Linked DNA regions of Homo sapiens: region 2 is linked to region 1. Evidence: promoter capture Hi-C in human tissues and cell types (Jung and others, 2019). All regions are on one chromosome and are shown on one strand. The core of a region is centred on a gene start or on the middle of the fragment in contact, and the rest is flanking DNA. Distances in the headings are between cores, read along the strand shown. Region 1 holds the start of STK38 (serine/threonine kinase 38). Region 2 overlaps SLC26A8 (solute carrier family 26 member 8).

Region 1 (6,266 bases), core at 1,970-4,469:
ATGCCTGTTTTTAAAAAGAGTTGTGGTTCTTTCCAAGTGGCTCAGTTTTGGCTGGTGAAGCAATCATAGGTCAGCTTGATAAAGGAGAGGCAGGTGATTCCCTTGGAACAAAGAACGGGTGAGTTGAGCAAGTGAGCAAGACACTCACCTTGGGCACAAAAAACTCAGTAATCAAGATAAAGACCATTTTAATGCAAGGTTTTTCAAAAATCAAAATTAATGCAAAAAATCCACGATGAATAAAACATCGAAATTTAAAATAAAGCTCGACTCACTGTGTAAGGTGGTTCATGCCTGTAATCCCAGCACATTGGGAGGCTGAGGTAGGAGGATCACCTGAGAACAGGAGTTTGAGACCAGCCTGGGCAACATAGTGAGGCCTGACTCTACAAAAAACTAGCCGATCAAGGTCGTACGCACCTTTGTTCCCAGCTACTCACAAGGCTGAGGTAGGAGGATTGCTTGAGCCCAGGAGTTCGAGGCTGCAGTGAGCTATGATTGTGCCGCTGCTCTCCAGCCTGGGTGACCCCAGCCTGGGTGACCCCGTCTCAAAAAACAAACAAACAAACAAACAAACACGGGGATGTGACAACATCAAAATTATGCAGGTCAGATCTTTCTAATTTCCAACTCACAGTCTGGGATGGGTATAAGTGATTTCAGTTTTGGTGATAGGAAAGGGATTCAGATGCTCAAGTGGCCAAAAAGAATGACAAACGTCCATTATAGTTATTGGAATCTTGGTAAAATGTCACCTTTTGGGTTCCTGCAGAAAGAGCAGCATAATTTGGCTGGGCTGTTTTGAGGAAAACTTTAGTGCTTATTTGAGTTGTGGTACAGATAAATTAATATAGGAGGAAAGGGCCGGGTGCGGTGGCTCACGCCTGTAATCCCAGCACTTTGGGAGGCGGAGGTGGGCAGATCACGAGGTCAAGAGATAGACAGCATCCTGGCCAACATGGTGAAACCCCATCTCTAGTAAAAATACAAAAAAAAAAGGCCGGGCGCGGTGGCTCACGCCGGTAATCCCAGCACTTTGGGAGGCCGAGGCGGGCAGATCACAAAGTCAGGAGATCGAGACCATCCTGGCTAACATGGTGAAACCCCGTCTCTACTAAAAATACAAAAAATTAGCCGGGCTTGGTGGCGGGCGCCTGTAGTCCCAGCTACTCGGGAGGCTGAGGCAGGAGAATGGTGTGAACCCGGGAGGCGGAGCGTGCAGTGAGCAGAGATCGCGCCACTGCACTTCAGCCTGGGCAACAGAGCAAGACTCCGTCTCAAAAAAAAAAAAGAAGAAGGAGAAGGAGAAGGAGAAGGAGAAGAAGAAGAAGAAGAAGAAGAAGAAGAAGAAGAAGAAGAAGAAGAAGAGGAAGAAGAAGAAGAAGAAAAGATTAGCTGGGCATGGTGGCACGTGCCTGTAGTCCTGTAGTCCCAGCTACTAAGGAGGCTGAGGCAGGAGAATCACTTGAGCCTGGGAGGTGGAGGTTGCAGTGAGCCGAGATCGTGCCACTACACTCCAGCCTAGTGATAGAGCGACACTCCGTCTCAAAACAAAACAAAAACAACCCCCCTCCCCCCACCAAAAAAAACATATATATAAGAGAGAAGAGAGAGTGAAATTCCTCTTCTGAAACTGGGAAAGTTCCAGGAGGAAGATAAGGTTTGAGCTGGGCTTTGGAAGGAGGAAAGAGAAGAGGAGAAAGAACATTGGATTTGCAGACAGAAAATGGGGTTCCCCTCTTGGCTACTTGGCTTACTAGCCGTGGGAATTCAGACAAGTCACTTAGCTTCTCTAAGTATCAATTACTTCATCTGCAAAACCTCGTGTGTCACTGCCAAAGTGAGGACCAAGTGAGATTAAATAAGTGAAAGTTGTTTGTAAACTGTAAAGCATTATGCAGACATCTTGGACTATTATTAAAAGCTTAAGAATGGGTAGGACTTTGACAACAGGCATTTGGGGAGAAGGGCCTCTGGGCAGAGAGAATGAAAGGCGAAGTGATTGATTGATATGTATGTAGTGACTGATTGAGACAGGGTCTCCCTCCGTTGCCCAGGCTGGGGTGCAGTGTCATGATCATGGCTCATAGCAGCCCTGAACTCCTGGACTCAATCAATCCTCCTGCTTCAGCCTCCACAGTAGGTGGGACCACAGGCACTTGCCACCATGCTGGCCAATTACAAAAATTTTTTTAGAGGTGGATTCTCCTTATGTTGCCCAGACTGGTCTCAAACTCCTAGGCTCAAGCTATCCTCCCACCTGGACCTCCCAAAGTGCTGGAATTACAGGCAGGAGCCACCGCGCCTGGCGAGAAGTGATTTTTGTTAAGAGGCTAGACAAAAGGAAACTGGGCTTTGAAGATGAAATGAATGAATAACTCGCAGCACATGCTTCCTTCTCTCCCTAGATGGCCCCTTTGCAGGCAGTCAGGGACCATGTCTCGTTCATCTTAGTTTCCAGGAGCTTGACACTTTGTAGTTGAGGGCTTTGTGCTCCATTCTCAAGAAACGACAAGTGCCCAAAGGCTATTAAACTTGGGACCTCTTTACCCCCAAAAGTAGTACAGAATAAGAGTTGGGTGGCCTTGAAAAGCACCTTCTTCTGTCCACACTGGGTCGCCCGCTGGGTAACCTCCCAAACCTATGAGAGCTCACCTTATCCCAGGTAAGGTCCTTACTTTAAGGAAGAGGAGGGGGGCCAAGGGCTCCAGCAGACCTGTTCTACACGGGGTAGGGGGGTGGGTGGGAACTATACAGGTGACAACATTTCATAGAACTACACACACACTCACACACACGCACATGACTGCATACCCAACAGGTTAAATCCGAGTGTGGTCTGTAATGAAGTTAATTGTATTGGTTTAGTTAATTGTATTGGTTTAGTTAATTGTATTGTGCGAATGTCAATTTCCTGGCTTTGAGAATGTTGTATCTTAAGAAAAATGTTGAGGTAAGCTGGGTGGGTGATGGTATAGGGAACCTGTATGTATTAATTTTGCAACTTCTTGTGAGTCCATAATTATTTCGAAGTAAAAAGTAAAACAAAAGAAAACAATGGAACTTCCCCCTCAGCCCAGCCTACTTCGAGACCGCCTCACACTCACACATCTGGCCTCACCCAGGTCCAGCCAGCCCTAGGCAGGGGGTGAAGGGAGGGGCAGGGCGGGGCCACGCAAGCGCAGTTCCGCAATCCCGGCCGCTCCGGGAAGTCGCGCATGCGTAGTCTCGGCCCCGGGCTGCCGCGCCAGCCCGTCTCCGCGGCGGGGGACCGGGCTGCCTTGGCCCCTCAGCGCTCGCGTCTTTTCCGGCAGTTGGAACGCTTCCTGTTGTCCTCACCCGTAACCGCCTGTTGCCCCCTGTCTCAGAGTCCCTCACGCGTCCCCTCCCGTCTTTGGCTCGTTGGCTGCCGCCGCCGGGGCTTCGCCAGCCTTCAAGTCGAGACTACTGGCCGAAGGGGCGTCTGCGGCTCTCCGCCGTCCCCAGCCCTGCCTCTCCCTGGGCTCTGGTGAGTTGCTTGCTGCCGCCGTCTTCACTCCATCCCGGGGTTTTTCCTTTATCTCCTCCTTCCCCAACCTCCGACTCCTTCTTGGGCTTTCTCCTGCTCGCCGGCGCCCTCTTTCAAGCCCTAACCTCTCAGCCTCTTGGCCTCTCTCCGCCCCTCTCCTTAACCCCCTTCTTCCCCCGTCTCCAGATGCCCCTTGTTGGCCCTCTCCACATTTTTCCAGTCCCAGCCTTTCCACCCCATCCTTTATCTTTCTCCTTTTGCAGTTGGAGCGGGAGCCAGGCTTTCCTTTCCATGTTGCCACCTTTGTCTGCTCCCTGCCACCAGTCAGTCCCTCAGGGATCTCGGTCATCACCGGTTTTTATCTCCTTTTCCTTCTTCTGGGGTCTGTGAACTGTGGTCTGAGGCAGAGATGTCGAAAGCCCCCCTTGGGGTGTGGTATCTTTGAGTCGGCTCCTTTCTCCGTTAGTCTTAGGATACTGGGCTTCAGATAAGCTTCAAATCACAGGAAAAGGCAGGGAAAATTCTTAAGAAGAGAGTGGAAAAGCAACAGCCAGAGGAAAAAGTCGGTAAGGGCTTAGAGGAAAGTCTGTGTCAGAAAGCGGGCAGAACGGCCGGCAGAGAGACCAGATCTCTCAGTTCATTCTGAAACGACTAAAAGACTCGGAGAGAAACTTGTTCTGTTTGAAATGCACCGAGGAGGGTTGGAGTGAAGTAGACCCTGAGTGTCTCCACCCTTTGAGCTCACCCTGCCTCTGAATTAGCCAGGCAATATATTTGGTTTCCCTAAACATAAAACAACCACCACCTCGATAACAGGCTCTCCTCCCCACCCTAAACGTTAGATACCAGCTTCCTCCTAAGAGGAGAGAACGCTATAGCAAACCATTTCATGTCCCAGCCCTATCCCCCATCACACATAAACTCCTAGGAATGGACATCAAAAATGAGTATATTTCCTAGTTAATCTTTCTTAAGGTGCTAAGTGCATAGCACTGTGCATGAAATGGGGGAAGAATATTAAAACAAGTATAAGACATGGTGCTTGCTTTCTAGTGTAGGTAGAGATTACAGTTTAGTAGGATTTACAGTTCAGTGGGAGAGATTAGACATGCGACTTAAGCAATAATCTTAGCTCCAATGTTGAATCGTCCAAATGAAAGATAATGGATTGTCAGTCGCAAAGAAATAAAGTCCATATTGTTGAGAGAGGGTTGTTTATAGTGATCACAGAGTACCATTGTAAAGTCAGTCAGTTAGCCAGGCATAACCATATAGATTGAATCACATAATGGTTTTCATTTGACTTCCTTTTGAGTTTGCAGGCCTTACACCTGACTTTTATGAGGATCAGTTCCTTTTGTTAATTTTTTAAAACTTTGAAGAATTCCTCAGCCACCTATTATTTCCTAATTCTTCAGAGTTGAAGAATGAAACAAATGGGGCAAAGGCCTCCAATGGCTTCTAGGTCAGGGCAGGAAGGCTTGAATTGTGGAAAGCCTGATGGATAGTCCTGTCTTAAGAAAAGTTGGTTGACCCAGTAAATCTATGAATTGCTATAGGGCAATATTAATTACATCTTTTGATTAAAGGATATTAGAATTAGGCTAAATTTTTTATATTACAATAGAGGAAGTGGAGGAGGGTTTAAAGAAAGGTCAAAGGGAAGGAGAGTGCAGTCTTTATCATTATATTAGAAACTCTAAAAGTTGAAAAACACTCTGCTTAAGAATTTGTTGGTCTAATATTTGAGCATCTTTGAGTTCATTTAATGTCCTTTTGATCTTTTTAAAAGTTTAGGTAGTAATGCAAGCCAGCTACTTAAATTAGTCAAAGCATTTTTGATATATCCATCAGTGTAAATGTAGTCTTTATTCTTTTTTTTTTTTTTTTTTTTTTTTTTCCAGACGGAGTCTCACTCACCCAGGCTAGAGTGCAGTGGTGTGATCTTGGCTCACTGCAACCTGTGCCTCCAGGGTTCAAGCGATTCTCCTGCCTCAGCCTCCCAAGTAGCTGGGATTACAGGTGCCCACCACCACACCCGGCTAATTTTTTTTGTATTTTTAGTAGAGACAGGCTTTCACCATGTTGGCCAAGCTAGTCTCCAACTCCTGACTTCAGGTGATCCACCTGCCTCAGCCTCCCAAAGTTCTGGGATTACAGGCATGAGCCACCGTGTCCGGCCATCTTTATTCTTTAGCTTTGTTGACAACTAAAAATCATTAACTTACTCAACTGCCTGTTATATGGAAGGCACTGTTTGCCTTAGGGTTAAATACTAGCAGATTGTTGTGTTGTGTTTGTTGTTGTTGTTGTTGTTTTTAAGACAGAGTCTTGCTCTGTCCCAGGCTGGCGTGCAGTGGCACAAGCCAAACTCACTGAAACCTCTGCCTCTCCAGCTCAAGCAATCCTCCCACCTCAGCCTCCTGAGTAGCTGGGACTACAGGTGTGTGCTACCACACCTGGCCAATTTTTTGTATTTTTTTGTAGCAACGGGGGTTTTGCCATGTTGCACAGGCTGGTTTCAAGCAATCTCCTACCTCTCCCTCCCAAAGTGCTGAGATTACAGGGGTGCACCAGTGCCCTGGCAAATTGTTACATTTTTATGTTGAAGTAATTTCAGTTGTTAAAATGTAACTACATATATGCAATTTCTTCAGGAATTTTCAGACAAGGAAGTACAAAACTCTCACTTGCTTTTGACATGTTTTTACATCTGGTTTTTAAATTTCTTCACCAAACACACTTAGAGTGCATGTGG
Region 2 (6,328 bases), core at 1,290-3,789, 560 kb after region 1:
GCCTAGCCTCAATGTTGGTGAATTTCCGTCTTTTTCTACATAAATGTTTTATTTTTATTTTAATGTAGTTGAAATCACACTGTTTTCAACTTCCATTCCTTCTCACTATGCTACAATAAGGAAATTGAGGCAGCTCATCCCTGGACTTGAACATAGGAGCACATCTAGATGAGAAGATGTCAAACTGAGAGGACCTTCCTAAAAAATTAAAATAAAATAAAATCCAAGAGTTGAGGCACAAGCAATCTCATGTTAAATGATAACAGGCAAAGGGCCAAAGAACCAAGGAGGAAATGAACGGCCCTTTCCTATGGCTAGAACCAGATGCATTCACAAAGGGAACATATGATGTTCATGGAGAAACAATTGGAAGATTTGAACATCTTGTTCAATAAGAACCCATACCCAAACCTCAGCCTTCAGAAAGAAATGGCCTCAAAAATGGACATGTATCCAACAGTACAGGTTTGGCTCAAGAACCACAGAGCAGAGGCCAGGTGCGGTGGCTCATGCCTGTAATCCCAGCACTTTAGGAGGCCAAGGCAGGCAGATTACCCGAGGTCGGGAGTTCGAGACCAGCCTGACCAACATGGAGAAACCCTGTCTCTAATAAAAATACAAAACTAGCCGGGTGCGGTGGCATGTGCCTGTAATCCCAGCTACTCAGGAGACTGAGGCAGGAGAATGGCATGAATCCAGGAGGCAGAGCTTGCAGTGAGCCGAGATAGTGCCACTGCACTGCAGCTTGGGTGAAAGAGCGAGACTCCGTCTCAAAAAAAAAAAAAAAAAAAAAAAAAAAAGAAAAGAAAACAAACAAACAAACAAAAAAAAAACAGAACAAAACTCAAGAAAGCAAAATGCAAGCTTATTCAGCAAACACAATCTCAACAACAGCAATTAGCTGAGGATAGAGTCAAGACCAGTCCTTCCTAAGAAATACAGATATACCAGCCAAATCTCCTAATGATGCCTATCTTGTAGTCCTAGTTTATACAGATCACTGGGCACCCTGGTTGCGACTCACGTTATGCTCCGATGTTAAGGTCCCTACAGATGACTTTGTTGTCCACAAAACACTTCATTTTGACTGCTGCCAAGATCCTAGAACATACTGCTTCTGCTTCTATCCCATTTTTGGAATCCTGAGTTTATTCTCCATGTTTCAATTCTAATTCTTTTGACTGTTCACCTCTACAAAGTAGAGAGAGATACTAGACACAAAAGGTAACATATTGTAATGTGTGTAATGATTTCCTACAAGAGAGTACTTTTCATCAATAAGGAACAAACCCGGAGATACACACACACATTGTGTGTACAACATGGATGGATTTCAAAAACATTATGTAGCATGAAAGAAAAAAGACACAAAAGGCTACATACTGTATAATTCCATTACATGAATTCCTAGAGCAGGAAAAACTAATCTGTCATGACAAAAAGATTAGTGGCTGCCCATGTGGAAAAATTAAATAGTAAGTGGTAGAAAACTAATTTATCAGGGTGATGGAAATGTTTCATGTGTTAATTAGCTGTTAGTTAGGGTGGCAGTTACCTGGCGTATAAATTCCTCAAAACATATAGAACTGGCCGGGTGCGGTGGCTCACGCTTGTAATCCCAGCACTTTGGGAGGCCGAGGTGGGTGGATCACGAGGTTAGGAGATTGAGACCATCCTGGCCAACATGGTGAAACACCATCTCTACTAAAAATACAAAAACTTAGCCGGGCGAGGTGGCAGGCGCCCATAGTTCCAGCTACTCGGGAGGCTGAGGCAGGAGAATGGTATGAACCTGGGAGGCAGAGCTTGCAGTGAGCCGAGATTGCACCACTGTACTCCAGCCTGGGCAACAGAGCGAGATTCCGTCTCAAAAAAAAAAAAAAAAACCGTATAGAACTGTATATCTAAAAGCTGTGCACTTTATTGTATCTAAATTATACCTTAATAAAAATAAATATATATAACAAAGAAATTGAGGCAAATGAGATGTTAAATGTTTTTTCTAATCTGTGTCATTAGTAAGTAGCAGAGCTAGGGCTCACTGTCTAATAATAATATTTCTTGTTTCTTTTCTTTTCTTTTCTTTTTTCTTTGAGGCAGAATCTCGCTCTGTCACCCAGTCTGGAGTGCAGTGGCATGATCTCGGCCCACTGCAACCTCCGCCTCCCAGATTCAAGCGATTCTCCTTCCTCAGCCTCCCGAGTAGCTGGGATTACAGGTGCCCACCACCATGCCCAGCTGATTTTTATATTTTTAGTAGAGATGGGGGTTTCGCCATGTTGGCCAGGCTGGCCTCAAACTCCTGACCTCAAGTGAGCTGCCTGCCTCAGTGTCCCAACGTGCCAGGATTACAGGCATGAGCCAATGCATCTGGCCTCTTGTTTCTTTTCTAAAATCTGCTGATAAAATTTATCTTTTACAGTTATAATTAACATTTTACCATGATAAAGATATTTTCATCAATAAAGCTCAGATTTTCTAAGTCAGCATTTTTCATTTTAAGATTGCTGAATTCGGGGCCGGGCACGGTGGCTCACGCCTATAATCTCAGCACTTTGGGAGGCCGAGGTGGGCCGACCACCTGAGGTCAGGAATTCAAGACCAGCCTGGCCAACATGGTGAAACCTTGTCTCTACTAAAAATACAAAAATTAGCCGGGCATGGTGGCGTGTGCCTGTAATCCCAGCTACTCCAGAGGCTAAGGCAGGAGAATCACTTAACCCGGGAGGCGGAGGTCGCAGTGAGCCAAGATCATGCCACTGCCCTCCAGCCTGGACGACAGAGCAAGACTCCATGTAAAAAAAAAAAAAAAAAAAGAAAGAAAGGTTGCTGAATTTTTGGGTGTCAATGAGAATTATTTCTTTTTTAAGTGGTGGTCTGTGGCAAAGATGCTTAAAGTTAACCAAATAATCATGTGTCCCCTGCACCTCCCAGTCTCTCTTGCAATTAGGAGGACCCTGTGACTTTTGAGCCAAAGTAGAGGTGAATAGGTGCAAGTTCCCTCTTCTTTCCTCCCCTGCTGTGATGATGACAGGGGCAGTATGTTAAGAAAATGGAGACTGGGAGCGGTGGCTCACGCCTGTAATCCCAGCACTTTGGGAGGCCGAGACAGGTGGATCACGAGGTCAGGAGATTGAGACCATCCTGGCTAAATGGTGAAACCCTGTTTCTACTAAAAAGACAAAAAAATTAGCTGGGCATGGTGTTGTGCACCTGTAGTCCCAGCTACTCGGGAGGCTGAGGCAGGAGAATGGCATGAACCCGAGAGGCGGAGCTTGCAGTGAGCTGAGATCATGCCACTGCACTCCAGCCTGGGAGACAGCAAGACTCTGTCTCAAAAAAAAGAAAAGGAAATGGAATCCCTAGGTGAAATTAGCTCAAATCCCTGGGGCACTGCTTGCAAAGAAGCTGCCTGAGAGATACCAACCCACCATGGACTTTGTGTGGGCAAAAAAATAACTTCGATGTGTTAAAATGCTACAATCTCATGGCTTGTACATTGCCACAGCATAACCCACTTATACTAACTAATCCAGGTCTATCCTCTTCAAGGTTGAAAAATACTGCCTTGGGACTTTAGACTAAACTTTCTTATAACTGTTACCTAGTTCTTGTAGAGGTGCATATTCTTTTCCCTTTGAATGTTTGAAAAGCTATTAATTCATAAAGCCCAGAAGCTGAAAGGCTTGTTTTTCAAAAGATTTTACAAAACCCTGAAGGCAGATCCAGCAATCCCACTATTGGGTATATATCTAAAGGAAATGAAATCAATATGTTGAGTAGATACCTGCACTCTCATGTTCGCTGCAGCACTATTTAAAAGACCTAAGATACGGAATCAACCCAAGTGTTCATCAACAGATAAATGGATACATGTGGTATATACAGGTATTAGTTGACAGACATGTAACAAAAAATGATTTTTAAAAAAATGTGGTATACATATACAATGGAATACTATTCAGCCTTAAAAAAAAAGGAAATCCTTCTCCTTAAAGCCTGGGTATTTTGTTTAAAAAAATTAAAATAAAATAAAAAATAAAAAGAAGGAAATCTTGTCATTTGGGACAACATGGATGAACCCAGAGGACATGTTAAGTGAAATAAGCCAGGCACAGAAAGAAAAGTACTGCATGATCTCATTGATATGTGGAATCTAAAAAGGTTGAACTCATTGAAGTGAAGAGTAGAATGGTGGTTACCAGGGTCTAGAGTTGCGGGAGAGTGGTTTGGGGAGATGTTGGCCAAAGGATACAAAATTTCAATTTGATAAGAGGAATAATTTCAAGAGATCTTTTGTACAATATAGTAACTACAGTTAGTAACAATGTATCATATTCTTGAAAATTGCCAAGAGATTAGATTTTAAGTGTTTTCACCACACCAAAAAAGATATGTAGGCATGGTAGCTCACACCTGTAATTTCAGCACTTTGGGAGGCCGAGGCGCGTGGATCACCTGAGGTCAGGAGTTCGATACCAGCCTGGCCAACAGGGAGAAACTCTGTTTCTACTAAAAACACAAAATTAGCTGGGCATCATGGCACATGCCTGTAATCCCAGCTACATGGGAGACTGAGGCAGGAGAATTGCTTGAACCCAGGAGGTGAAGGTTGCAGTGAGCCGGGATTGTGCCATTGCACTCCAGCCTGGGCAACAAGAGCAAAACTCCGTCTCAAAAAAAAAAAAAAAAAAAAAAAAAAAGATGTATATGTGAAGTAATGCATCTATTAATAGCTCGATTCAGCCATGCCACAATGTGTATATATATATATTTTAAAACAACATGTTGTATATGACAAATATATATGATTTTTATTTGTTAATTCTTAAAAACAAAACCCTGGATACAAATGGTGCTCTAGAGCTCGGGAAACAATGTGTATATGGAGTTTGTAGGGTGCAGTCAGAGACAGCCTCTCCTTTCCCAGCCCATCTCTGGCACCTTAGGAGGCTGCAGCTTTGTAGTCACCAGCAGACAGCAGCCATGAACAGACAGCAGCCCTCTTTTTTTTTTTTTTTTTTTTTTTTTTTTTGAGACGGAGTCTTGCTCTGTCTCCTAGGCTGGAGTGCAGTGGCGCAATCTCAGCTCACTGCAGCCTCTGCCTCCCAGGTTCAAACGATTCTCCTGCCTCAGCCTCCCGAGTAGCTGGGATTACAGGTACACACCACCATGCCTGGCTAATTTTTTTATTTTTAGTAGAGATGGGGTTTCACCATGTTGGCCAGGATGGTCTCGATCTCCTGACTTCGTGATCTGCCCACCTTGGCCTCCCAAAGTGCTGGGATTACAGGCATGAGCCACCATGCCCAGCCCTCTCTTAAGAGACATCAGCACCAAGGATCATAGTGATGTTCCTTCAAGCAGTCTGTAAACCCAGATGTATCTGACACAGGTCTCAATCAATTTAGAAAGTTTATTTTGCCAAGGTTAAGGAAGCCCCCATGACATAGCCTCTGGAGGGAGGTCCTACCAACATGTTCAGGGTACAGCTTGCTTTTATACATTAGGGAGACACAATATATCAATCAATACCTGTAAGATTTACACTGGCTTGATCTGGAAGGGTGGGACAAATTGAAGGGGTGGGGGCTTCCATATCATAGGCAGATTTAAAATTTTTCTGATTGGTAATTGATTGAAAGAGTTATTATCAATAGAGACGAATGTCTGGGTTACGGTAAGGGGTTGTGGAGACCTAAGCTGTGTCATGCAAATGAAGCCTCCAAGTAGCAGGCTTCAAAGAGAATGGGTTGTAAATGTTTCTTGTCAGACTTAAGGGTCTGTTTTGAGGTTAATGCTGGTTGGCTTTTCCTGAATTCCAAAAGGGTGGAGGGATATAATGACGTATGTCTGACCCCTGCTTCAATCATGGCCTGAACTAGTTTTTTCAGGTTAACTTCGGAATTCCCTTGGCCAAGAGATGGGATCCATTCAGATGACTGGGGGCCTTAGAATATTGTTTTTGGTTTACACAGCCTTGAAAGCAATCAACATGAACCAGAGTTATAAGGAAAGGAGAGAAGTGAGAGTGCAAAGAATGCTGTGGTTTGACCATGGCTGACAGATTGGTTTGTGAGCCACAGTCAAGATATTCCTCTGGGGGCCAAGCTCGGTGTCTCACCCTTGTAATCCCAGCACTTTGGGAGGCAGAGGCAGGTGGATTGCTCGAGGTCAGGAGTTTGAGACCAGCCTAGCCAACATGATGAAACCCCATCTCTACTAAAAATAAAAAAAATTAGCTGGGCATAGTGGTGCACGCCTGTAGTCCTAGCTACTCAGGAGGTGGAGGCAGGAGAATTGCTTGAACCCAGGAGGTAGAGGTTGC

What was found. Contacts are between HindIII fragments. The study calls those that stand out against the background at their distance.
Region 2: a fragment that was not itself captured here is called in contact with the fragment with the promoter of STK38 in region 1 in 1 of the 25 tissues and cell types used here (aorta).

The regions. Positions count from the first base shown.
Region 1 is chr6:36,544,432-36,550,697 of GRCh38, reverse strand. STK38 (serine/threonine kinase 38) reads left to right here and starts at 3,219. Exons shown (of 14, transcript NM_007271.4): 1 at 3,219-3,508. RefSeq lists a silencer at 3,074-3,413 and an enhancer at 3,161-3,684. The HindIII fragment of the contact is 5,084 bases long and covers 79-5,162 here.
Region 2 is chr6:35,984,400-35,990,727 of GRCh38, reverse strand. All of the region lies in intron 7 of SLC26A8 (solute carrier family 26 member 8), which reads left to right. The region is part of intron 6 of LOC105375035 (a long non-coding RNA gene); the gene reads right to left. It also overlaps the pseudogene DPRXP2. Among named protein-coding and RNA genes, the nearest start is that of SLC26A8, 37 kb to the left of the region's middle. The HindIII fragment of the contact is 6,825 bases long and covers 1-5,951 here.